Linked DNA regions of Homo sapiens: regions 1, 3, 4 and 5 are each linked to region 2. The links are contacts of gene promoters, found by promoter capture Hi-C in blood cells and fetal thymus (Javierre and others, 2016). All regions are on one chromosome and are shown on one strand. Each heading gives the region's core, a stretch centred on a gene start or on the middle of the fragment in contact. The rest is flanking DNA. Distances are from core to core; before and after follow the strand shown.

The links. The method cuts DNA at HindIII sites, captures the fragments that hold promoters and counts their contacts. A CHiCAGO score of 5 or more calls a contact.
Region 1: a fragment that was not itself captured here is called in contact with the fragment with the promoter of STARD6 in region 2 in 1 of 17 cell types (non-activated CD4 T cells); the score reaches 5.9 in non-activated CD4 T cells.
Region 3: a contact is called between a fragment that was not itself captured here and the fragment with the promoter of STARD6 in region 2, in 1 of 17 cell types (non-activated CD4 T cells). The highest score is 6.0, in non-activated CD4 T cells.
Region 4: a fragment that was not itself captured here is called in contact with the fragment with the promoter of STARD6 in region 2 in 6 of 17 cell types (total CD8 T cells, naive CD4 T cells, total CD4 T cells and 3 more); the score reaches 12.9 in total CD8 T cells.
Region 5: a fragment that was not itself captured here is called in contact with the fragment with the promoter of STARD6 in region 2 in 1 of 17 cell types (naive CD4 T cells); the score reaches 6.1 in naive CD4 T cells.

Annotation. Positions count from the first base shown.
Region 1 is chr18:51,205,679-51,210,718 of GRCh38, forward strand. No RefSeq gene overlaps it. Among named protein-coding and RNA genes, the nearest start is that of MEX3C, 11 kb to the left of the region's middle. The HindIII fragment of the contact is 3,160 bases long and covers 1,895-5,040 here.
Region 2 is chr18:54,355,750-54,360,270 of GRCh38, forward strand. STARD6 (StAR related lipid transfer domain containing 6) reads right to left here and starts at 2,109. Exons shown (of 8, transcript NM_139171.2): 1 at 2,043-2,109; 2 at 612-695. C18orf54 (chromosome 18 open reading frame 54) reads left to right here and starts at 2,157. Exons shown (of 9, transcript NM_001288980.2): 1 at 2,157-2,326; 2 at 3,025-3,121. RefSeq lists enhancers at 2,661-3,172, 2,674-2,743. The HindIII fragment of the contact is 3,120 bases long and covers 972-4,091 here.
Region 3 is chr18:51,141,019-51,145,598 of GRCh38, forward strand. No RefSeq gene overlaps it. Among named protein-coding and RNA genes, the nearest start is that of MEX3C, 54 kb to the right of the region's middle. The HindIII fragment of the contact is 5,127 bases long and covers 422-4,580 here.
Region 4 is chr18:51,190,449-51,195,302 of GRCh38, forward strand. The region is part of intron 1 of MEX3C (mex-3 RNA binding family member C); the gene reads right to left. Among named protein-coding and RNA genes, the nearest start is that of MEX3C, 4.8 kb to the right of the region's middle. RefSeq lists a silencer at 4,251-4,545. The HindIII fragment of the contact is 1,962 bases long and covers 576-2,537 here.
Region 5 is chr18:51,166,852-51,171,507 of GRCh38, forward strand. No RefSeq gene overlaps it. Among named protein-coding and RNA genes, the nearest start is that of MEX3C, 29 kb to the right of the region's middle. RefSeq lists an enhancer at 1,305-1,885. The HindIII fragment of the contact is 1,111 bases long and covers 2,627-3,737 here.

The sequences.
Region 1 (5,040 bases), core at 2,225-4,724, 3.1 Mb before region 2:
CGTGGGCTCAAGTGATGCTCCCACCTTGGCCTCCCAAAGTGCTGGGATTAGAGACACGAGCCACCATACCTGGCCAACACATTTAAAATACATAGTTTAAGCTACTTATATGCTCTAATCACAAACTGCCCAAGACTATTTCACTTTATAGCACAGAGCCTGATAATACATATTTATTTACATGAGGATCAATCTACCCAGATAACACAGCAGCTCTAAATGTGCATGCTCCAACAATAAGGCTTCAAAATATATGGAAAAAAGGCCAGGTGCGGTGGCTCACGCCTGTAATCCCAGCACTTTGGTAGGCCAAGGTGGGTGGAGCACCTGAGTTTGGGAGTTCAAAAGCAGCCTGGCCAACATGGAGAAACCACGTCTCTACTAAAAATACAAAAATTAGCCAGGCTGGTGGTGCATGCCTGTAGTCCCAGCTACTCAGGAGGCTGAGGCAGGGGAAATCACTTGAACCCTGGAGGCAGAGGTTTCAGTGAGCCAAGAACGTGCCACTGTACTCCAGCCTGGGTGTGTCTAAAAAATTGAAAACAAAAACAAAAACATGGAAAACAAACAAAACCAAACAATGTGAAAACAATAAAGCTGAAAGGAGAACTACAAATCCACAATTATAGTTGGGGACCTCAACACTCCCTGTCAGTAATTAATAGAAGTATTAGTAAACAGAAAGCAAAAAAGTAGAACTACATAACACCATTAGCCAAGAGGATGTAATTGATGTTTATAGATGACTCCACTTAACAACAGCAGAATATAACTTTTTTCCAAGTGCCCATGCAACAGTTGTATACATAGGCCATATCCTGGATTATAAAGCAGACGTCAACAAATTCAAAATAATTGAAGCTATATGAAGTATGCACTATGACTATAAAAAAATTGAACTAGAAATCAATAACATGAAGAAAACAAGAAAACCTCAATACATGAAGATTACACAACACATAATCCATGAGTCAATGAAATCTTTCAGGGAAAATAAAAAAATACATTGATCTGAATGAAAATTAAAATATAATATATGAAAACGTGTGGGATGGCCAAGCACAGTAGCTCATGCCTGTAATCACAACACTTTGGGAGGCCAAGGCAGGTGGATCACCTGAGGTCATGAGTTTGAGACCAGCCTGGCCAACATGGTAAAACCCCATCTTTACTAAAAATGCAACAATTAGCTGGGTGTGGTGGCGTACACCTACTACTACTACTCAGCTACTCAGCTACTCAGGAGGCTGAGATGGGAGAATTGCTTGAACCCGGGAGGCGGAGGCTTCAGTGAGCCGAGATTGCGCCACTCTAGACTAGGTGACAGCGAGACCCCATCTCAAAAAAAAAAAAAAAAAAAAAGAAAGAGAAAAAACCCAGAAAACTTGTGGGACACAGCTAAAGCACACCTGAGAAATTTATGGCACTAAAATATATTAGAAAAAAAGGAAAGGGTTCAAATCAATAACCTAAATCCCCACCTGAAGAAACTAGAAAAAGAACAAAATAAACCCAAACAAGCAGAAAAAAAGAAACTAATAAAGTTAAGAGCAGAAATCAATAAAATTGAAAATATGGAAATAGTAGAGAAACTCCATGTAACATATGGATCCTTAAAAACATCAATAAAATTGCTAAACATTTAGCAAAACTGAGAAAAATAAGAAAGAAGACACAAATTATCAACATTGGCAATGAAATGGGATCCCACTATAGATCCTGAAGCCATTAAAAGCATAAAAGGAGACTACCACAAACAACTTTATGTTCATAAATTCAACAACTTGGAAGAAATGGACCAACGTTTTGAAAACTATATAGTACCAAAATTCAACCAAGATTAAACAACCTAAATATTCCTATAATGATAAGGAAATTAAACTCATAACTGAAAAGCTTCCAAAAAAGAAATCTAGAGTTCTACTAAAGATAAAGAAGACATTAAAAAGTGCCTGTACTCTCACCACTCTGCGATAGTTTCAGATAACATGATTCCTGATGATCTAATGGTCAGGAAAAAAAGAAAAATGAAAAAAAGGCTGGAAGGCTGGGTGCCAGTGGCTCATGCCTGTAATCCCAGCACTTTGGGAGGCCGAGGTGGGTGGATCACCTGAGGTCAGGAGTTTGAGACCAGCCTGACCAATATATTGAAACCCTGTCTCTACTAAAAATACAAAAATTAGCCGGACATGGTGGCGCACGCCTGCGGTCCCAGCTACTCAGGAGGCTGAGACAGGAGAATTGCTTGAACCCAGGAGGTGGAGTTTGCAGTGAGCCGAGATCACGCCACTGCACTCCAGCCTGGGCCACAGAGCAAGACTCTTGTCTCAAAAAAAAAAAAAAAAAAAGGGAAAAAGAAAGAAAGAAAGATAGGAAAAAAAAGGAGTTAATGTGAAATGATCGTTTTCTTAACTTCTAAGATTCATTGATGTAGAACTGAACTTCTCTACCACTGTATTCTAACACTGACAAAAATGTCAATTTGCCATTATAACCTAACCTATGGAATACATCTTCCAGAGACCGTGGGGGACATGCAGTAAAGGGGAGTTGGCTGCTTTTTAGCTTAAAAATCACTTATCCTGTTAGTGCCTCATTTTCTTCACAGATAAAACATGAATTCATTTATTTATCTAACAGATAATTACATAGCCTCTACTATGTCCCAGGCACTGTTCTAAGTATCTGGAACACATTCGTGAACAACAACAAAAAAGATCCCTTCTTCTGCAGAACCTACACATTCTATAAGGGGGGTGGGGCACAAAAGTTAAACAACAATATATAACAAAATAAATTGTACAGCATGTTAGAAGGTGATAATGCTATATGAAAAACAAAGGCCCGGAGCAGTGGCTCATACCTGTAATACCAGTCATATAGGCTGAGGCAGGCAATCACTTGAGGTCAGGAGTTTGAGACCAGCCTGGCCAACATAGCGAAACCCTGTCTCTACTAAAAATACAAAAATTAGCTGGGTGTGGTGGCATGTGCCTGTGGTCCAGTTACTCAGGAGGCTGAGGCAGGAGAATCACTTAAACCTGGGAAGGAGAGGTTGCAGTGAGCTGAGATTGTGCCACTGCACTCCAACCTGACTGGGCAACAGAGCGAGACTCCATCTTAAAATAAATATATATACATATATATATACACACATATATATATATATATACACACACACATATATATATATATATACACACACACACACATCTGTATATATATAAACAAGAGTGCAATATGGTAAGGAGGATATCAACTACAGGGGTCTTGGGCAGGATCCTGACCCACGATGGTGGGTCAGGGTAGGCCTGATTGAGAGGGTCATGTCTGAGCAAAGATTTGCAGGTTAAGGAGTTAGCCAAGGGGGTATTTGGGGAAAAAGTGTTCCAGGAAGAGCCACACATCTAGAGTGAAGGCTAAATTAGGAGTGGAGCATGCAGAACTTTTAGGCCATTTAAAGGACTTCATTAGTTGTGCCTGGTGGTGCACACCTATAGTTGGAGGTATGGGAGAGGCTGAGGTGGAGGAATTGCTTGAGCCCAGCACTGCAGTGAGCTGAGGTGGTGCTACTGCACTCCAGCTACTGCACTCACAGAGTGAGACCCTGTCTCTGTTAGAAAAAAAGTAAAAAATTAAAGGATTTCAGCCTTACTCTGTGGGAAATGAGAAGGCATTGCTGAGTTTTAAGCAAGGAATTGGTACCAAAAAGGAAAAAAAAGTGATACTTATATATAAACATGTTGAGAATTGAGTGTAGATGACACAAAGAGGAGCAGAGTGACAAGAAACAGTGGGATTTGGGACACACTTTTGAAGACAGTGCCAGCAAACTCCAAGGTTTTTGGCCTGTGCAAGCAGAAGATGCTGTTGCTCTTAATGGGGAGGGCTGCAGGTAGAGTGAGTCTGGGGTAAATGTTTCTAGGGTTTCAAGGGTTTCATGACAGTCGGTGGCTTCTGTTGTAGCTTGAATCTAAAGGTCACTTCTCTGATTTGGTGTTTCTCACCATCTCTCCTGCCAATCCTCCTCTTTTTCTTTGCAACCCTCTAAGTCTTAGCTTTAGAGGTGGAAGGTCAACCTAATTCTCTAGGCAGGCAACGGCTGGTTCCCTTTACCTGGAGAGCCTAAATGTAAATCTCTCTGCTAAAACCTCTCCCTCAGGGCACTGGTTCTTAGGGGAGGTGGTGACTTATTTATTTTGGGTCAGGTGTAGGACTTGTTGAGTTTACAGTGGATAGAATGAATTTTAAAATATGTCAACGGTTCACTAGGACCCGAGTTGAAACTATTAACTTATTTTATTCAGGTCTTTGTGTAATTGTGATAGAGACATCGATCCCTCTGGTCAGGGTTGCATAAAGTCGTTGCACAGTAAAACTTCCCAAAGGCTACATTTTTATGTTTCATTTTCAGACTGTTGGTGTCACAGGAGCAATTAAAATTTGTGAATAATGTTTTTTCCCCCTAGATGAATAATGTGGATGGCCTGCAGTCTGCTCATATTCCTGCCAAGGGATTTAACAGGCTATTGTGTTAGTAACAATGTGGATGCAAATTGTAAACATTTATCATCTCCTAAGTTTCATGCAATTTTCAAAGCCTTGCTAGTTAAAACAGGTACTCTAACCTCCAATATAAAACAATCTTTAGATCATTTTCCATATTCCCCAAACATATTTTGTTTTCCTGTAACTTCTATTTATTATATAAAGTAACATTGTAAAATCTGGTAGAAAGTAAATAGTAATGTTTAATAAGTTTAAGGTCCTCTAAAATTGATTTCGCGTCTCTTTAGATGCTATGAACTACTATTAAGGTACATCAATAAAACATTCCATATAGTGGTATTTGGTAGTAAATTCTCTATGCGTGTTTATTAGCGGTTTATTAGGAGGTAAACTAAATATTTGCTAGTGTAAATTTCCCAATAATTTATCTATACTCTCAGCATTTTACAACTGTTATGATCTTGACTCTTGAAAATTACCAATGTAATAGGAATGTCCAAATATTTGAGTCTTAAGATCAAATTAATATTT
Region 2 (4,521 bases), core at 859-3,358:
GAGTAAGATACTAGACATAACTATTACTGCTGTGAATGAGTTCCGGAAGCTGCAGTCTCACTGGTCCTTCGGGTCATCATCCAGCTTTCAGTTAGGGGAAGCTGGCAGGTAAGGTGAAAACAGAACTGGATTCAAATCCTGACTTTGTCACTTAGTACAGCTATATTATTTTGGATAAATTGCTTAACCTTTGAACTTCAACTTCCATATCTATAGAATGGGGATAATAATATCTATCTCACCGAATCATTATAAGGATTAGTTGAGTTAATATATGTAAAAATGCTTTAAACAGTGTGGAGCCCTATACTAGGTTATCAAAATAGTTAGTTTCTCTTTAAAAAAATGGACACATATAAATCCATCATTTAAAAAACTCTCCAAAGATCTGCTTCCTTAAGCACTTAAATAAACCTTCTTAAAGTTTAATTATTGGAACATTTCTTCCTTAGCTCTCACTTAAAACTCTTCAGGTTGGATCATAAATCTATTTTCTCTTATTTAATTCTCCAGCAAGGCACAACAGGTAGTTGATAGTCTCTATATTTGAAAAGTTTTAGTAAACCATTATTATAACCTCCTCTTTCCTAGCAGAGTCCTGGTTTCTTTACCTTTCCTGACAGATCTAATGCAGAATTTTAGTAACTACTGGGGCTCCTCTCCAAATCCTTGTGGAAATCTCCATATCTCTTAACCTGTGAGGAAACAAGGCAGAAGTAGAATTATTTTGATCCATGAATTAGGTCAATATATTTGATAATTTTCTTTATATCTTCTCAGTGTCCTTTATCTATACTTTGTCTTCATTAGGAAACATTTGCTACATATATGCCCCAAGATGAAAGAAAAATATAGTACAAAAAACTTTAAAAGATACTGTTTATAAAAAGAATCTTTAAGAAACTATTTTAAAGGAACTCAGTTTAAAAAGACACTTAGGTGGAACGTGGATACAAAAATTTAAGTTTTTAAGCTTACGTCACTAACAATTAACAAGGATTGTTAATCCCCGACCAGGGCTCGTCTTAGCATATAAAACACCGTTCTTGATTTCCTATTGGAAACCTACTTGATATTAATTGATCTAGAGACTTTGAAGATTATTGGGACATACCACTAGCAGGGTATGTCTTATTTTCAAATCACCAACTATTACTGCCACAATAGACCTGTGTTTAACCACTAAACTGAACGTTATAGCTTCCGGACTTTTTCATTTGCTAAGAGAAAAGGGAAGGTAAAATTTAGTAGGCTACAAAGGGTAAAAAGAAGAAAGTGCAAACAGTAAGACTACAATTGTATTACATGGTGGTGGAACGTCGGATGAGCTGGAACATATTCAGATGGACTCATGGTCAAGGATATCTTCACTCATAGGGTCAGTGGAAAATAAACATAAACCAACATTGGGATGGCCTCTTTTTTTGATACACCAATTGGTTGAAACTGGATTCCTTCCAGACTTACAGACAGGTTCACACATGTTAGTGAGTCTTTACATCTGTTTGTACAATGACCCTCTTTCTGAGCTGCCTGACTGGGTCCCCAATCCGTGCGGGGTCACTGCCATTCTTCCCTGGGAATCAAGGCTTCCTAGGAGTTTGTTAAATCCCATCCCTGGCTAAACTCGGGTCTCCAATCTCCCATCTGCTTTGTGTGTGAGAGGCTCCGGGGTGTGAGAGGAAAGGCACTGAAGAGGGAGTGAAAGAAGTGGTGAGGGGGGACTGCCTACTAGCTGAGACGATATCTTATTTTTGGCGGGGGATGCTCTGGAAGCGGGGAGGCTGAACTCACTTGGAAAAACTGGAGCTGTGGGGCAGACTCTCAGCGACCGGAACGACAGCCGCCAGCGCCCTTAAGTCTCCCTCCCCACCCAGTCCCCTCCCGCAGACCCCGGGGCCGGCTGAAGGGAGATCAGCAAGTCCCCGCGCAAACTGGCCGAGAATAGCTGTGACGGAGGTTGGAAGGGCGTGGGGGGCAGCGACTTGGATGCAGCCCACATCCCCCCATTCCCAGCCCCAGAAAGGAGGGAGAAACAGCACCTTCCAGCAGGGGTCGCGACCTAACGCTCAACAGCATCCTCTCTTCTCCGGCCGCTCCCTCATCTCCGCTCGCGCCCGGCGCCCCACTGCCGCGCATGCGCACCGCAGGCCGGCGCCATGTTGGGGCGGTTTGAAAGCGAGCGCGGGTGTCGAGCTCTGCTGTGACTGCGGAGGAAGCTGCGAGTGAGCCGAGCCTGAGGCGGGGCGGTGTCCGGGTTGGGGATGCTTTGTGGTGTCTCGCGTTGGGTAACAGGCCTGAGCTTTCGGCGGAGAGCTGTGGAAGTGTGCGGTTTTTGTTTTTGTTTTCCTTTATTTTTATTTTGGGGCCTTAGGGGTGAGTTAGGACGGAAAGGAGGGTGTCTTTTCGAGGGTTGTCCCATCCTGTGACAGCCGAGAAAAGGCGAAAGGAGAGTGGCGAGGAAAGAGGAGGAGACGTCTCCTGAGGGAGGGCGCTTGTGGAGTCTCTGTGGAAGGAAGAACACTGTAGGGGGAGTGCCCCCTGGGCGAGGGAGGGTCGCGGGACGCGGCGGAGGGGGCTCACACGGGCGTCTGCGGACCTGAGGCGGCGACAGGAAGGGGCTTGCGCTCTGGGGCTGTCGCTTCGGAACACTTCTCCTTCAGTCCATTGCTGCGCTCGCCCTGGCTGCTGAATAAATGGTTTCGGAGTGAAAAGCATCTCACTGAAGAACTTGTCTGTGTCTGTGACTGACGGGCGGTGGAACACCAAAGGGAGGGTGTCGCCTGATTGGGACTGGAAAAATTGGAATTCAGGGCGCCCGGGGTAGGGGAACGATGCGCACTGCTGGAGACGGGCGACCTTCGCTGGCCGGTCGGTGGGTTCCTGGTTTTCTGCTGCCGAGTAAACAAACGTTCCCTTTCCTAACTTAGCAGTCACAGAGCTATTTCCAAGAGTTGTTCTTAATTTCCTGTGCGATATTCCCATTGGCTATTTAACACTGAACATTCTGTTTTTGAATCAAAGTTAGTTAAAATTTGTTGTCAATAAGTTTAACATTCTGTTCTTCCGCGTGATGGATTTTCTTTTGGAGATTCGAACTGAAGCCTGTACGGAGGAAATGGTAAGATATATGGGATTTGCATGAGATATGTGGGGTTCAAAATAATCCTGTGGCTGAAGTGGGGAGAAGTGGGTGGGTCCCTACCCACTTTAGCTACAATTGGGGTCTGTTCAGCGATTGTTGGAAGCAGGATGATGAGTACATAGGGGTTTATTGAACGATTCTACTTTTGTATACTCTTTTGGGGAAAAGTTGGAAAACTTTTCATAATGAAACTTAAATTGTGCATTTTCTTTTTGTCTGTCCTGTGAGTTGAAATAACTAGTAAATGTTATCACCCACTTACGGAGACCAATACAACAGCTTTCTCTTTCAAGGTTTTGTAAAATAAAATCAGTAGCCTGTTCGGCATTCAAAGACAGAAAACATTTGGTCAGGCTTATCCAAACAAATTTACTTGAGTGAGTTTAAACTTCTTTAAATAAAAGGGATACGAAAAAGGTAAAGCTGGCTTAGTTTAGCCATTCGTCAGAGATATACCAGTATTACAGAATTCAGATAAATCAATGAGACGAAACAACTGTTACCTTATGTTCTGCCATTTGCACTGACCACGGTCAGATCTCTTGTAATGGCCATTGCATGCTCTAACGCTGTGGTAGGATGATGTTTTACTTTGTCTCTTATTTAATTAGAAAACTTTCGATGTTTTAAAGCCAAATTTAATAGTTACTAAGATTACATTAAAAGTTGTTATAACAAATATTTCTAAAATTATAGCCAAAAATTAAACATTATAACATCATAGCATATGTTAAGTCCTCAACATTAATACTTTTTTAGTATAGGAAATCCATTCATTTAATTTTAAAAAGAATGTCATCATGGACTGAATTAGTGCCGGTTCGTTCTGTGATTTCTTAGGTTTTCAAATATACATCCTGTTACTGTACTGAGGTAGACAGGGATTCTCTCAATTTTAATAATGGAAAAACAGAAGAACACATTGAGTTGATTTTCACATTATTTAAGCTTCCTTTGAAAGAGGTGAGCTGAATCCATTTAACATAAGAATTGAAAATAGGGAGGGTGGTACCAAAAACGAAGGTCAGGAAATGATTAACTATTTTAGGAAAAGTGTATATTGCTAACTCATTCCAGAATAAGACCTGCAGTTTATTTACAGTTAAATGTTGTAAATGTACTAGCATTTATAACATTGAAAGTGAATATTCTCCATTGTTCTTGTTTTGAATACTTCATTTGATGGCTTTAAAAAATTTATTGAGCGCTATTATCTGCAGCACATGGTAGTAGGCTTATGATTTGAAAAATATGATGTATAGGGGAATATTAGGTATTGTGATGTCATAGAATATATCACCATAAGAGAAAAGAGGTTCATAAGTAGTTTTTAGGACTTTTTAAGAAGTGAGTACTCTCTCCTTGGTATTTTCCAT
Region 3 (4,580 bases), core at 1,735-4,234, 3.2 Mb before region 2:
AGCTTGTTTCATTTTGCATTTTTGCATTTTTACATTTTCAATAAATGGAAATATACTCTAAGTACTTTTCTGCAACTTGGGAGATTAATCTATATTGTTGCATATAGTTCATTCATTTTCAGTGAGTACAGATTGTTTTCAGTGCTATATAGTATTCCATTGTATGAATATATTATAATGTATTTAACTATTTTATCATTGTTGGACAGCTGCATTGTTTACAGTTTTCTTTTTTTAATATTACAAGTGAGGCTATTATGAACATTTTTGTATAAGTCTCATAGTGTTACACATTGCCATTGAGAAAAATATCTGAGAGAGGAATTTCTGGTCATAGAGTATGTACATATTTAACTTTACTAGATGATGTCAGTCTTCCAAAGTGGTTGTATAAATTTATACTCCCACCACAGTCTTTGGAAGCTTCCATTGATCCTCTTCCTCATCAACACTCAGCAATTCTTGTTAGACTTCTTAATTTTAGCTGCTGGGTGGGTGAGTAATAGTGTCTCATTGTAGTTGTAATTTGCATTTTGCTGATTACCAATGAGGTTTAGCACATTTTCATGTTTATTGGCCATTTGGAAATCTTTTCTGAAGTGCCTGTCGATTTAATTTTTTTTTTCTGTTTGTCCTCTGGTGCTAAAACTGAAAACATGTTCAATACTTTAGTCTATTTTTCTACTGGGTTTTTGATGTCAGTTTTTGGTAATGCTTTCTACATCCTAGAGATGGGACCTTTAGTATGTGCAGCAACGATTACCGCCAATTCCTCGGCTTGCCTTTTCATTCTCTTCGTGGTGTCTTTTGATGAACAGGAGTTCCTAAATGTAATGCAGTCAAACTTAGCAATCATTTCCTTTATGTTCAGTACTTTTTGTGTTCTGTTTGTTTCCCTACCCTGACAGCATGAAGATATTTTCCTATATTATTTTCTGGAAGCAATCTTGTTTTGCCTTTCATCTTTAGATCTACCATCTAGATTGATTTTTGTGTATGTTGTGTGGTAGGGTCACATTTCTTTTCCTTTTTCATGTGGATATCCATGGAGCTATTGAATAGAAATAAGTACCCTTTTCCCACTGTCCTGCAGTACTGCCTTTTCCATAAGTGTGCATGTGCCATAGATCCATCTCTATCCCATTGGTGTATGAGTCTGTTCTCACATTGCTATAAAAAACTTCCCGAGACTGAGTAGTTTACAAAGAAAAGAAGTTTAATTGACTCAGCTCCACAGGCTGTACAGGAAGCATGGTTGGGGAGGCCTCAGAAAAAATCATGGCAGAAGGTGAAGGGGAAGCAAGCACATCTTACCATAGTAAAGCAGGAAAGAGAGAGCAAAGGGGGATATGCCACACACTTTTCAACAACCAGATCTCGTGAGAACTCACTTACTATCACAAGAACAGCAAGGGGGAAATCTGCCCCCATGATCCAATCACCTCCCACCAGGTCCCTCCCCACATTGGGAATTACAATTTGATGTGAGATTTGGGTGGGAACACGGAGCCAAACCATATCAATTGGTCTGTCTATGTTTGTTATACAGTATAACAGTATAATGTCTTATTTTAGCTTTCTAATGAATCTTGCTTCCTGACAGAGGAGATCTTCTTCAAGATGATGTTAGCTACTCTTGAACTTTTGCAGTTCCTTATGAATTTTTTGTTTTGTTTTGTTTTTGTTTTTTGGGACAGAGTCTCACTCTGTTGCCCAGGCTGGAGTGCAGTGGCGCGATCTCGGCTCACTGCAACCTCCACCTCCTGGGTTCAAGTGATTCTCCTGCCTCAGCTCCTGAGTAGCTGAGGCTACATGCACGTGCCACCACACCTGGCTAATTTTTTGTATTTTTATTAGACGGGGTTTCACCATGTTAGCCAGTATGGTCTTGATCTCCTGACCTTGTGATCAGCCCACCTCAGCCTCCCAAAGTGTTGGGATTACAGGCGTGAGCCACTGCACCCGATCTCCTTTTGAATTGCAAAATCACCTTATCTGGGCCTGGTGTGGTGGCTCACACCTGTAATCCCAGCACTTTGGGAGGCAGCGGTGGGTAGATCGCCTGAGGTCAGGAGTTTGAGACCAGCCTGGCCAACATGGTGAAACCCCATCTGTACTACAAATACAAAAATTAGCCAGGCATGGTGATAGGAGCCTGTAATCCCAGCTACTTGGGAGGCTGAGGCAGGAGAATCGCTTGAACCTTGGAGGTGGAGGTTGCAGTGAGCTGAGATCGCACCACTGCACTCCAGCCTGGGCTACAAGAGCGAGACGCCATTTCAAAAAAAAAAAAAAAAAATCACCTTGCCTGTTACCACAAAAAGGGAACTTTGATTGGACTTGCACTGAATCTGTAGATTGGTTTTGGAAGAATTTATATCTTTACAATATTGAGTCTTCCAATTTCTGAGCATGATATCATTCTTTATTTAGTTAGATCTTTTTTTCAGTAATGTTTTTATAGTTTTAAACATAGGCATCTTGAACATCTTTTGTTAGAATTATTCCTAGGTATTTAATTTTTTTGATGCTGTTTTAAAATTTAATTTCCAAACTACTGCTGGACCCTAGAGATGCAACTGATTTTTATACTGATCTTGTATTTCAAAATCTTGCTATACTGGTCCTTTCTGCATTTATTGAGATAATATGATTTTTCACTTTCATTATGAAAGTGTGGTAGATTATAATGATTGATTTTCCAAAGCTGTCACTCTTGCAGTCTGGAAATAAGCTCCACTTAGCCATGATACATTATCCTTTTTATATTATATATCATTGGATTTGGTTTGCTAATTTTTTAAAGGATTTCAAAAATTGATATTAATGACACTGGACTTAACATTTTCCCTTTTTGTAATTTTGCTGTCAGGTTTGGTATCAAGGCTATGTTTTAAAAAAATAAGTTTCGTACAGTGGCTCATGCCTATAATCCCAGTACTTTGGGAGGCTGAGGTAGGAGGATCACCTGAGGTCAGGAGTTCGAGAACAGGCTGGCCAACTTGGCAAAACTCCATCTCTACTAAAAGTACAAAAATTAGCTGGGCGTGGTGGCGAATGCTGGTAATCCCAGCTACTCAGGAGGCTGAGGCACGAGAATCGCTTGAACCCGGGAGGCAGAGGTTGCAGTGAGCAGAGCTCATGCTGCTCACTGCATTCCAGCCTGGGAGACAGAGCGAGATTCCATCTCAATAAATAGATAAAAATAAAAAATAAGTTTGGAATTATTCCTCTTTTTCTATTCTCTGGAAAAGTTGTGTAACAGTAGTGAAAGGGTTTCCCTAAAAGTAAAAACTTACCACTGAAGCTGTCTGGAAGTGAAGTGTTCTTTGTGGGGAAGGATTTAATAAGAAATTTAATCTCCTTGATATATATGGACTATTTAGATTTTCTATTCTTGTGTCAGTTTTGATTAAGGGGTATTTTTGTTAAGAAGTTGTTCATTGTCAATTTTCCAGTGTAATGCCCAAAGTTGTCATAATATCCCCTTATCATCTTTTTTCTTTTCTTTCTTTCTTTTTCTTTTTTTTTCTGAGATGGAGTCTCGCTCTGTTGCCAGGCTGGAGTGCAGTGGCATGATCTTGGCTCACTGCAACCTCCGCCTCCCAGGTTCAAGCGATTCTCCTGCCTAGCTGGGACTACAGGCACGAGCCACCACACTCAGCTAATTTTTGTATTTTTAATAGAGACAGGGTTTCACCATGTTGGCCAGGATGGTCTCGATCTCTTGACCTTGTGATCCCCCTACCTCGGCCTCCCAAAGTGTCTTTTCTTTTTTCTGTGAGATAGTCTCTCTCTGTCACTCAGGCTGGAGTGCAGTGGCAGGATCTTGGCTCACTGCAATCTCTGCCTCCATGGTTCAAGTGATTCTTGTGCCTCAGCCTCCCCAGTAGCTGGGATTACAGGTGTGCACCACCACATCTGGCCAATTTTTGTATTTTTAGTAGAAATGAGGTTTCACCATGTTGGCCAGGCTGGTCTGGAACTTCTGGCCTCAAGTGATCCGCCCACTTTGGCCTCCCAAAGTGCTGGGATTACAGTCATGAGCCACCACGCCCAGCTCCCTTATTATCTTTTGAATATGTGTGGTATCTGCAGTGATGGCTTCTATTTCATTCCTCATGTTGGTTGTTTGGATTTCACCCTTTCTAAATTACTCAGCAGCTTATTGATTGATTTCTTTCTTTCTTCTTCTTGTTTTTTTGAAATGGAGTCTCATTCTGTCACCCAGACTGGAGTGCAGTGGCGTGATCCCAGCTCACTGCAACCTCTGCCTCCACCTCCTGGGTTCAAGTGATGCTCCTGCCTCAGCCTCCTGAGTAGCTGGAATTACAGGTGCGTGCCACCACACCCAGCTAATTTTGTATTTTTAGTAGAGATGGGGTTTCACCATGTTAGCCAGGCTGGACTCAAACTCCCAACCTCAGGTGATCCACCCCCTTCGGCCTCCCAAAGTACTGGGATTACAGGCGTGAGCCACTGTGCCTGGCCATTGATTGGTTTTTTTGAACAAATAACCAATTTTCAGCATTGTTGAATTCTCTATTTTATTTGTTTTGTATTTTATTCGTTTTGTTTTT
Region 4 (4,854 bases), core at 307-2,806, 3.2 Mb before region 2:
CCAAATTACTTATGCTTACCTTCAACTACATCTGCAGTTTTCATTAAAGGATTTTCTTTTATTATTTTAAGGCTTAGTCTTATTATTCCATGATAGACTTTACTTGTGACCAAACCAGGCTTCTCTGCATGCAATGAGGAATTGTAGTCCGTACTTACCGGACAAGGGCAACAAACACTTGAAGTGTCCTTACATCTCAAACACTGGCATGGAAGAGGTCCTATAGTTAGTGTAACTTAAAATTCTCAAAGTCAGTTATAGAATAAAGACTTGAACTACTCAAACAGTATTAGACTATGCATACATTCAATTTAGTATATCTGGGTTTGGTAATCCTAACATTAGAAAATTATTTTCAAGGCTTAAATATCAGATTTAATCTTTGTAAGTCTCTATATAGTAACTAATGGTAGCATGGGGAAAATGTTAAAAGTAAATCCACAAATTATGGCATATAAGCTACTTGGGAAGCATTAAGAATGCAGTTTAATAAAAAAGGTATCACTTAAGGATCACCTGAATATCAATGGAGATTTAAACATAACTATCCATGATCTACTTGGAGCTTCTTAAAAAGCTTTTTTTATTTTTAAGTGCAAATACACTCCTTTAGTATCTTATGAACATTATCTACTTTCTCATCTTGAGTTTGGTTACAAATTCTACATGGCAGGAATGACACTGTTTAGAATTCTATAACAATCCTATAAATTATAAAATAGTACTGTAGTAGTCATCATGGCTCTCCTTGTGGGCACATAGTTGTCATATACTTTCTCAGCCTTTTGAAGTTAGGTGTGGCCAGATGATTTGCTTTAATGAAATATGAGCAGATGTGATAAGCATTACTTCCGGATCTAACATTTTAAGACCAGTATGTGCTATGCTGTAGTCTTTCATCTTCTGGCACAACAGAAGATCAGTAACACTGGAGATGGTGGCTGCTGTTGGCCTGTGTCCCTGAATGACTAAAATGAGCAGAGCCCCTATGAACAAGAAATAAACCATAGTTGTTTTAACACTGAGGTGTCAGAGTTCTTTGTTAACCACAGCATAACAAGCCCATCTTGACAGAAGTGCCAAGTATCTAAAAGGCATTCAGATATCCGTTGGTTCTAGTTCTATTACATTGGAAGAATATAATGAGTCAAACTATCTGCTAAAGCCAAAAAAGGTGGACATGATTAAACGGTGGTTCCAAATTAATTTCAGATTTACCTTAACAAAAGTAATGTGCTTAGCACTTACAGTTTCATATATGTCGATTTCTTTATCTTCCAGAGTCTCTACAGGAATTGTAGATATGATTATGCCCAGGTGCAAAAGAGGAATCTGAAGCCTAGGGAGTTTAAGTGACTTGTTCAAGATTACACAGTGAGTTATTGGCACAGGAATATCTATTTCTGATTTGGTTCTTTCCAATATACCACAGCTGAACAGAGACTGTCACAGGCAGTTTGGTGTAGCTACAATAGGTATTTTTACATATTGTATAAGCTACGATATTAAAATACACATACTAAAACATTTTTATGTTTAAGGCAAAAGTATTCAAAACCAAATCAGCAATATATTAAGCATTCCCTTATAACTAAATGCTACCTTTCCTTAAAAACTTACGCTGTAAAGAACCACCTAGAATTCCAACCTATAAACATTGTTTGAAAATTTTCTAGATAGAAATCTCTAACAGACTAACACAAATACTTGGTTCCCTGGATCATTTTCAGGTTGTTGGTAACCAAGGGGTACAAAATACACCCTTGAATTACCACTTCATTTCCCATTTCCTCCCTAGTGAATCAGAATAGTTCATTAGCTGAATAAGGCAGGAAGAAAGGCAGTAGATTCCCCACCCATTTGCAAAAACAATTACAGTAACTGAACCCTTCTCAAGGGTCCCAGAACTAATACAAACCATTATTAACGAAATTTAAATTTTAAAGCCTAGAAAAATTGTAATATTTAATTTTTAAAGCTAGTGTCTATATATATACGCAAATTAACTTTCTGTACTACAAATGACAGTAAATTTTTAGCTGGACACATTAGAACTATATTACAATTAAAACTGTGCCTTGTGGGTAGTACAGACACCAAAATTTTATCAAGTAAACTAATTTGGATAGTGGTATTTTAAATTATGCATATTAGAAATTCAGTATCCTACGATTAGGGCACAAGTTAATCCAAAATACTAACCTTCCAGAGCAGAATGCTTCAATACTGAAGTGGCAATGTAGAGTACAAAGAATTTTATTTCTGATGTCAAACTATGCTAAATCCAATCTCAACTATTTGAGCAAGTTAGCTCTCAGAACCTCTGTTTCTACCTCTCTAAACGGCAGTAACCACCTAGCAGGGTTAAACGGCACTGGTGAAGCACCTAACATAGTACTAAGCAAAGAGAAGTCCAACAATGCACCCTCATCCCCATAAAAGAAAAAGACACTGTGCTGTAGCATCATTCTGAAACTATTTATTCTCATGAAATATGTACTTCTCCTTGAAGAGAAAATTTATGTACAGCAAGACCAAGCTTTCTCTTTTTCTCCTGGTCACAGACGTATAAACCCTATTTCAGTTGTGTTAGAGCTTGAAGGGTGGTTCCACCCTAAGAAATTGGGAAGACAAATTGAAACAGTGTAAAGTATTAATTGTTAATAAAGAATTTTGTTTTATAATGTGTAATATATTAAGCACACTTACTATTCATACATAAATATCCAGATATTGGGAGTATGCACATTTTTTTTGGACAGGGTGTACAATAAAAAGAAGCTAGAGACGACTTTTCTAGACTATGTGGCTAGAGAACACACATAGACCATTAATTAAAGTCTAATGAAAGATACACATTTATCCTAATAGTAATACAAAATCTTGGGTTACAAGTCTCTAAACAACTGAATTTATGACATTTAGTATTAATTTATAATGTATTAAGAATGGGTATACAGTTCTATTTTAATTCACTTTTTAGTCTAAATGGATATAAATGACTGTACAAATTGGAACAAAACCTGCTGACTAAAATTAGACCTGTTAATCACTGTTAATATGTCTTGCAGGTACTATACTTAAAAACAGAGACGTTCTAAGTTTATAAAATTAGGTCTTAAAATCTGTTGTCAGGTTTATTTTTGATGTCCATATTCTAAAACTTCTTTGATTATATCAACAAGCCTCTTCAGTTCCTGGCTTTATTTTACAGTATTGTTGTTTCACAACAGATGCAATGCTTTAAAAAACAAGGCCAATTTAACATTTACAAATGACCATATGCTACTGGGGAGTATAAATTCGAGGTCAAACACTCTGCCAACTTTCATCAGTATCAAAAGCGGTAGTTTGTGTTTTAGAAAAACACTGGAACTCAGAGGCCATCTACATGAGTTGCTAGTCTATGTGACTCAGAATTCCATTTGTCCTGCTCTTTGCTTCAGAGCTGAAGTCATAAATGTCTCCATCTGTGACATAATTATTTCCAAAATCAATTAAGAGATGTCAAATAGAAAATTATGGCTTCAGGTAATACATAAAATGGCAGAAATGGATAATTTAATCTTAAGGATGAAAGTTTAGCTCCTTCAAAGCAAACAAGAAAATGAAATGATTTGCCCTGTTTTACTTACTTAGGACAGATTCTCTCCCGTGGGGAAATATAATACTGTAAAAGAATGTGAACATTAGAAGTCACTTCGTTCTCCATACGAGTGAGCAAACACTTTACAGGTTTATTACTATGCTGCTGGGACATGGGGGTGGCAAAGGGGTCAATGATCCACAAGTTGTATGGTTCAGAACAGCAAAAGGACCAGATTTTCTGCTTTTAAGATAGAGGATGATGACATACTTTTAACAGTATTGTCAACTCTGGGAAAATACAAGGTTTAAATGGAAGAGCCAGCAATTTGTCTCCATGATCTAAGACATAATTAAATTCAACATTTCCTTATTAACCAAATAAACACAGCCCTCAAAAGAAAAACTAAGGCTTTATCTCATTTCCTATCACGTAATAGCTGGTACAAAATAAAAACTTGGAATTCACTTTACTTTTAAAAAACTGATTTCTATAAAGATTAACAACATACACAAGTAAGGGCCATTTAGCAGTGCTTTAAGGGGTGTCTACTATAATGAAGGACTAAAGTTTGTATTAAACTAAATCTATAAAATATGTTATCTTGTCCTTCAGTAAAACTGGCACGTAAATGTTTTCTTCCTTTGTTACCCTAGACTGTTACCATAAGCACACGGAAGCAACTTGTCCTGAGAAGTGGCATCTTCATATGGCATTCAGGCTTCTTCACATTCTGGTGTGAACGCCTGCCTTCCCCCTTTTCCACCACTCCCCTTTACAGACCTCAAGTATCAAAACAACACTACTTGGCAATTATACCTAGGCTAGTCCTCCACACCCCTCCTCACATTGTTCCTCCACAGTTTTTCAATCTCCATTTGTTAGACTCCTTCCTACCCATTTTCCAAGGCCCTCTCCATAGATGTTCTCTTACCTGAGACTTTGTCATACTAAATACACTATAGTTAGTGCCATTCTACTGTTTATTAGACTGTTATCTTCTTAAGGGCAGAAAGTCTGAATTAACTTCACATTCTCAATACCACAAACTCAAAACCTGGCAAAATACAAGCTTGGTACATAGCGATTCCTCAGTGTTCTTACATGAATGGTCAACTCATTCTGATCCAAATTGAGATGTTGTAATTTTATCCCATGTAAACAAAAGTTTTCTCCTGGATTATTACTCTAAGTATCGCCAAAACCAAACAATCCAGGAATCTGAAACTCATTAACCAGAAGAACGACAAGCATAAGCTACCTTTCAA
Region 5 (4,656 bases), core at 1,932-4,431, 3.2 Mb before region 2:
TAAAAAGACAGCGAGGCATCTAAGTGGGAGCACCAGAAGCCTGCAGGTCTGAGGACTCAAGGAGGCGGAGAAGATTCTCTCCCTGCCTTGGGCCTTGGGATCCCTGCTGTACCTTCAGGGTTTTCCTCCATCTGTGCCTTTTTTCCTGGTCAAAACAGACTGTTATTCAAGCACAGAGCTTTTTGTTCCTCTTTATGTCTCTAAAGGCAACTGCAACTATGTAGCCTATGAAGCCCCTGAAAAATCTAAGCCCACACCCAGGCACTGATTTAAATGAAAAAGCAGTATCCAAAAGCCCAAGGAAAATGGTCCATTGCGAAGCTGGACAATTTCCTCTCCTGACACATCTTCACAGCTTCGTAGACTGTGAGAGAATGCTGTGTTCTTAAAGTGCTTACCTGCCTCAAACTAAAGCAATACCTCCAGGAGCTATGTGATACATGTAATAAACATCTTCTTGTGCACCTTTAAAAGGCTCCCAGGTGACTCTAAGGTTCAGGTGAGATTAAGCAGCACCGTCTCAAGGCTGTGTTTGCCCTTGAAACCCAGGTAGGAGGTGGACAGGTCTGGAGCACACTCCCTCAGCACTGGTTTCTGGTCCCTTTGTAGATGAGATAAAGCGACTTCTTCAAGATCTGAGTGATACAGTGACAAATCCATTGTGGAGCTTGCTGGATCAAACCAGTGTGACATCAAAGCCCTACACAGGTCCACTGGGTTTAGCTCCAAGTGGTCTTAGCGCGCCCTTAGAACACCCTTAGAAAGTGGATCCAGATCTGGGAAAGAAGACCAAGGACTCATACTTAGGTGTCTTTCTATGTTGTTAATGGAAGAGTAAACTAAGGATGTCCCTCTAAGCCCTTTCAGGACTTAGCCAAGAGGAGTCTCCAAAGCCCCGTGAGACAGCATCCCCACAACCCTTTCTAAGGCCTGAAGGTGATGGTTCTGAAGTCCTCTGGTTCCTTCCTGGAACAAGGGTCAAATAGGAAAACCACAGAAAAATGAGACTTCCAAGAAAAGTGCAGGCATCCTAAGTTTTCAAATAAAATCTTACTTGAAGCCTAAGAAAATGGATTCAGGCAGCTTAATTCTTGTTTGTTCCATGCACAACCTATCTTTCACCAAATAGATTCTGAGGCAACTTGATGGGGCTGCTGGTAATAGGCACTGTCTGAGGTGGGAAGTGCAGCAGGCCCGGGCCTGGGTGACTGTAAAGCAGGCCCTCAGGACACAGTGGTCTGGCTGCCTGGCAGCAAGATCTCTAGAGAAAACCTGGGAAGTGCAAGAGACAGCTTTGTAAAGGGGTCCTCGGGCTTAGGAACCCCGACTGTGGCATTTCAATTGGAATGTGAGGAAGCAGCACCCAGCAGGGGTGAAGAACATGCACATCAGAATGGCCGAATGCCATTCTTTGTCTCATTGTGTAACCCTGGGCAAGTTCATTCATCTCTGAGATGGGGCTCTCATCTGTAGGAGGGGGTACTACTTCCCTCATAGAGTTTAAGGATTAAGTGTCATTGTATATGAAACATTTAGGAGCATGCTTAACTCAAGTACTCAACCTAGAACTTGCTTAAGCCTTGGACTGGCTAATGAGGGTTTGGCTTTCAATGTCAGAAGGCATTTGTGATGGTCACAACTGTGTGTGTGTGTGTGTGTGTGTGTGTGTGTGTGTACTACTGACATCTAGTGGGTGGAGGCCAGGGATGCTGGTAAACACCCCATAGTGCACAGGACAGCCTCCTACCCCCCAACAAATTATTCACCCCAAAATGTCAATAGTACTAAGGTTGAGTACCCCTGAGCTAAAGGGAGAAGTTGAGGTTAGCCCACCCATACAAGGGGAGGTGGGTAGGAAACAGGCTTACAAGTGTCGGATCTGGCAGCAACTTTAAACTCCTGCAGCCGTCCCCGGAAGCAGAACCAACCCTCTTCTCAATTGGTACACTTTTAGCAGCTATAAGTCAAGGGTATGTTAGAGACACTGGGATCAGAATGAAGACTCATAGGTCAGTGGACTGATTTAAATAGCCTTTTGGAAAGATGTGAAAAAGCAATAGAAAATGGGCCAGAACAGAAAAGAAGCTAGGGGTTGAAATGTGGTCCAGGTCACTTGAAGTCAGGAGTTTGAGACCAGCCTGGCCAACATAGTGAAACCCCGTCTCTCTCTAATAAAAATACAAAAATTAGCCAGGGGTGGTGGCGGCCGCCTGTAATCCCAGCTAATCGGGAGGCTGAGGCAGGGGAATCACTTGAATCCAGGAAGCAGAGGTTGCCATGAGCCGAGATCACACCACTGCACTCTAGCCTGGGTGACAGAGCAAGTGAGACTTTGTCTCAAAAAAAAGCAAAAGCAAAAACAAAAAAACAAATGTGGTCCAGGAAGAAAAAAAAAAAGCATCACATAGTAATAAAATATGAGGTCCATCCCCCATTCTTGATTTTTCTCTCTAGGACAAGGCAAACTACATACTCAGAACTACAAACACTTAAGTCAATGGATTTGCATTATTCTAGAAAAAGACCAATCCTTCAAAAAGTCAACAAAGTTATCTGGCTGGGCCACTATCTGCTCATGCTATGGCATCAAAGATGAAACTAAAAGTAAAAATTCTGACTCCACCAAAGCTTTGACTGATTTTGACATTTCATTTGCTTGGCAAGGCAAGTGCTCACTGGATCAACAAATCGATTCTGAAACAATTATTTGTGCCTTAACTAGCTCAAGCTCTTCATGATCATGACAGTCTGAGGATATGAATTAATCCTATCATTAAAAAGGGCCACTGAAATATTTTGATTGGCATGCCCAGTTAAATAAAAAATGCTCACATTTGCAAGCAACTGAGGCATTTTCCATGGAATCTTCTGAAAATGCCTTTAGACTTGGGAATTTTTACCTTAAGCCTGTTACTTATTTTTTACTCTTTATTAATTTTTACTCTTAAGCCTCAGCTTTATTCTCTGAAAAATGGAGATAATACTTCCACCTCTAGGGCTATGGTAAAGATTATGTGAAACTATGCACCTGAGTTCACTTTGTACTAACTGGGCCACACAACTAAAGGTAGTGCTTCAAACCCCAAAGGCTTTTCACTTTTACTTTACACTGCTCTTCCAGAGCACTTCAACAGTATTTTCAGGGTCATGCTGGATTTTTAAAAGAATCAGAACAAGAGGATGCTACCTATGAAAGTAAATTATGTACTTCACAGCAAGCATTTCTATGCCTTAGTTTCATACTTAGGTTTCAGGCAGTTCTCAGAGGCAATTATTTCCATTTTACAGATAAGGAAAATGAGATGCAAAATATTAATCTGCAAAATATGGGATTAAGTACCCTCTGACAAAGCCAGAAAATAAGGGAACTTGAAATGGAAGCCCAAGTTGGAGACTACAGTGAAATTCTACAACTCCCATGCCTTGACACCTTTGTAGGGCTAGCCCAGGAGCAGTTTCTAGGTGTAATGACCAGGATTTGGAAAGCATAGGAAATGACTGAAAAATCAGATGTACTCTAAAAGGTGACACACTAAATTCCCTTCATTGGTCTACTTGGATTTTAAGACCCCAGGGGGAGAGAGGTGTGGAGTCCTGATTCTATCTTTTCTCGGGAAGGGGTGGCACCTAAGGGTGTCTAAGTAGTGGTGACGGTGGAAGGGATGGCAGAAGGATGCTATTCCTGGGGAAAGTTAAAAAGATAAGGGCACCATCTAAAGTAATAGGAACATCAAAAAAGCTTGCCTACTAGCAAAGAAAAGGGACCATTTCTGAAATCCTTGACCACAAATACAATCTTCAACATAAGGATGCATTTTTGAAAAAGCACTTGGAATCACCTGCTTAGGAAAACATAAAAGACGACTGACTCAAGAGTTCTCACAAGTTTCTAGTCATGAGAATAAGATCTTTTCATTGGATTATGTGTGGTTCAAGAAAAGCCACTGGGAACAGTCCAAGAGAAGCAGATTTTGGAGTTTGCTTTCTCAAATTCAAATGAGATGGCAGCTCTCAGAATATGAATTCTGAGAACCTTCACCCATCCACTGATGACACAAACTTAGAAAGATCTGCCTAGCCTCTAGATAACTAGAGCTTCCAGGATTTTTTAAAAAACATCCTAAGTAGGCTGGGCACAGTGGCTCATGTTTGTAATCCTAGCACTCTGGGAGGCCGAAGCTGGAGGATCGCTTGAGGCCAGCCTGGGCAACACAGTCTATCTGTCCAGTATTTCTCTGTTGTTTTAAATGGTCTTTCAGAAAATTTTACTTCAACAATACTAATAATTTTTCAATAGGTATTGCTATTTATTAACTCTATGATCACATTCTCCTGTCACCTAATAAACCTGGCTAATTTACACATGTTGGGCATTAGCCAAATCCACAAATTATCAAGTATTCCCTCAATCCTTTTTGAAATTTTAGCTTTCTAGAGACAGGGTCTCCCTGTTACCCAGGCTGCTCTTGAACTCCTGGGCTGAAGTGATCCTCCAGCCTCGGCCTTCCGAAGTGCTGGGATTATAGGCATCAATCAGCCACTGCACCTAGCCCTAGTTTTATCGTTAAGGTATAATGCCTAGCACTTCACATCTGACTCAAGTAGACTTGAAACCACTACCCATTCATGTCCCTTGTGATACTTTGGTAATTTCCC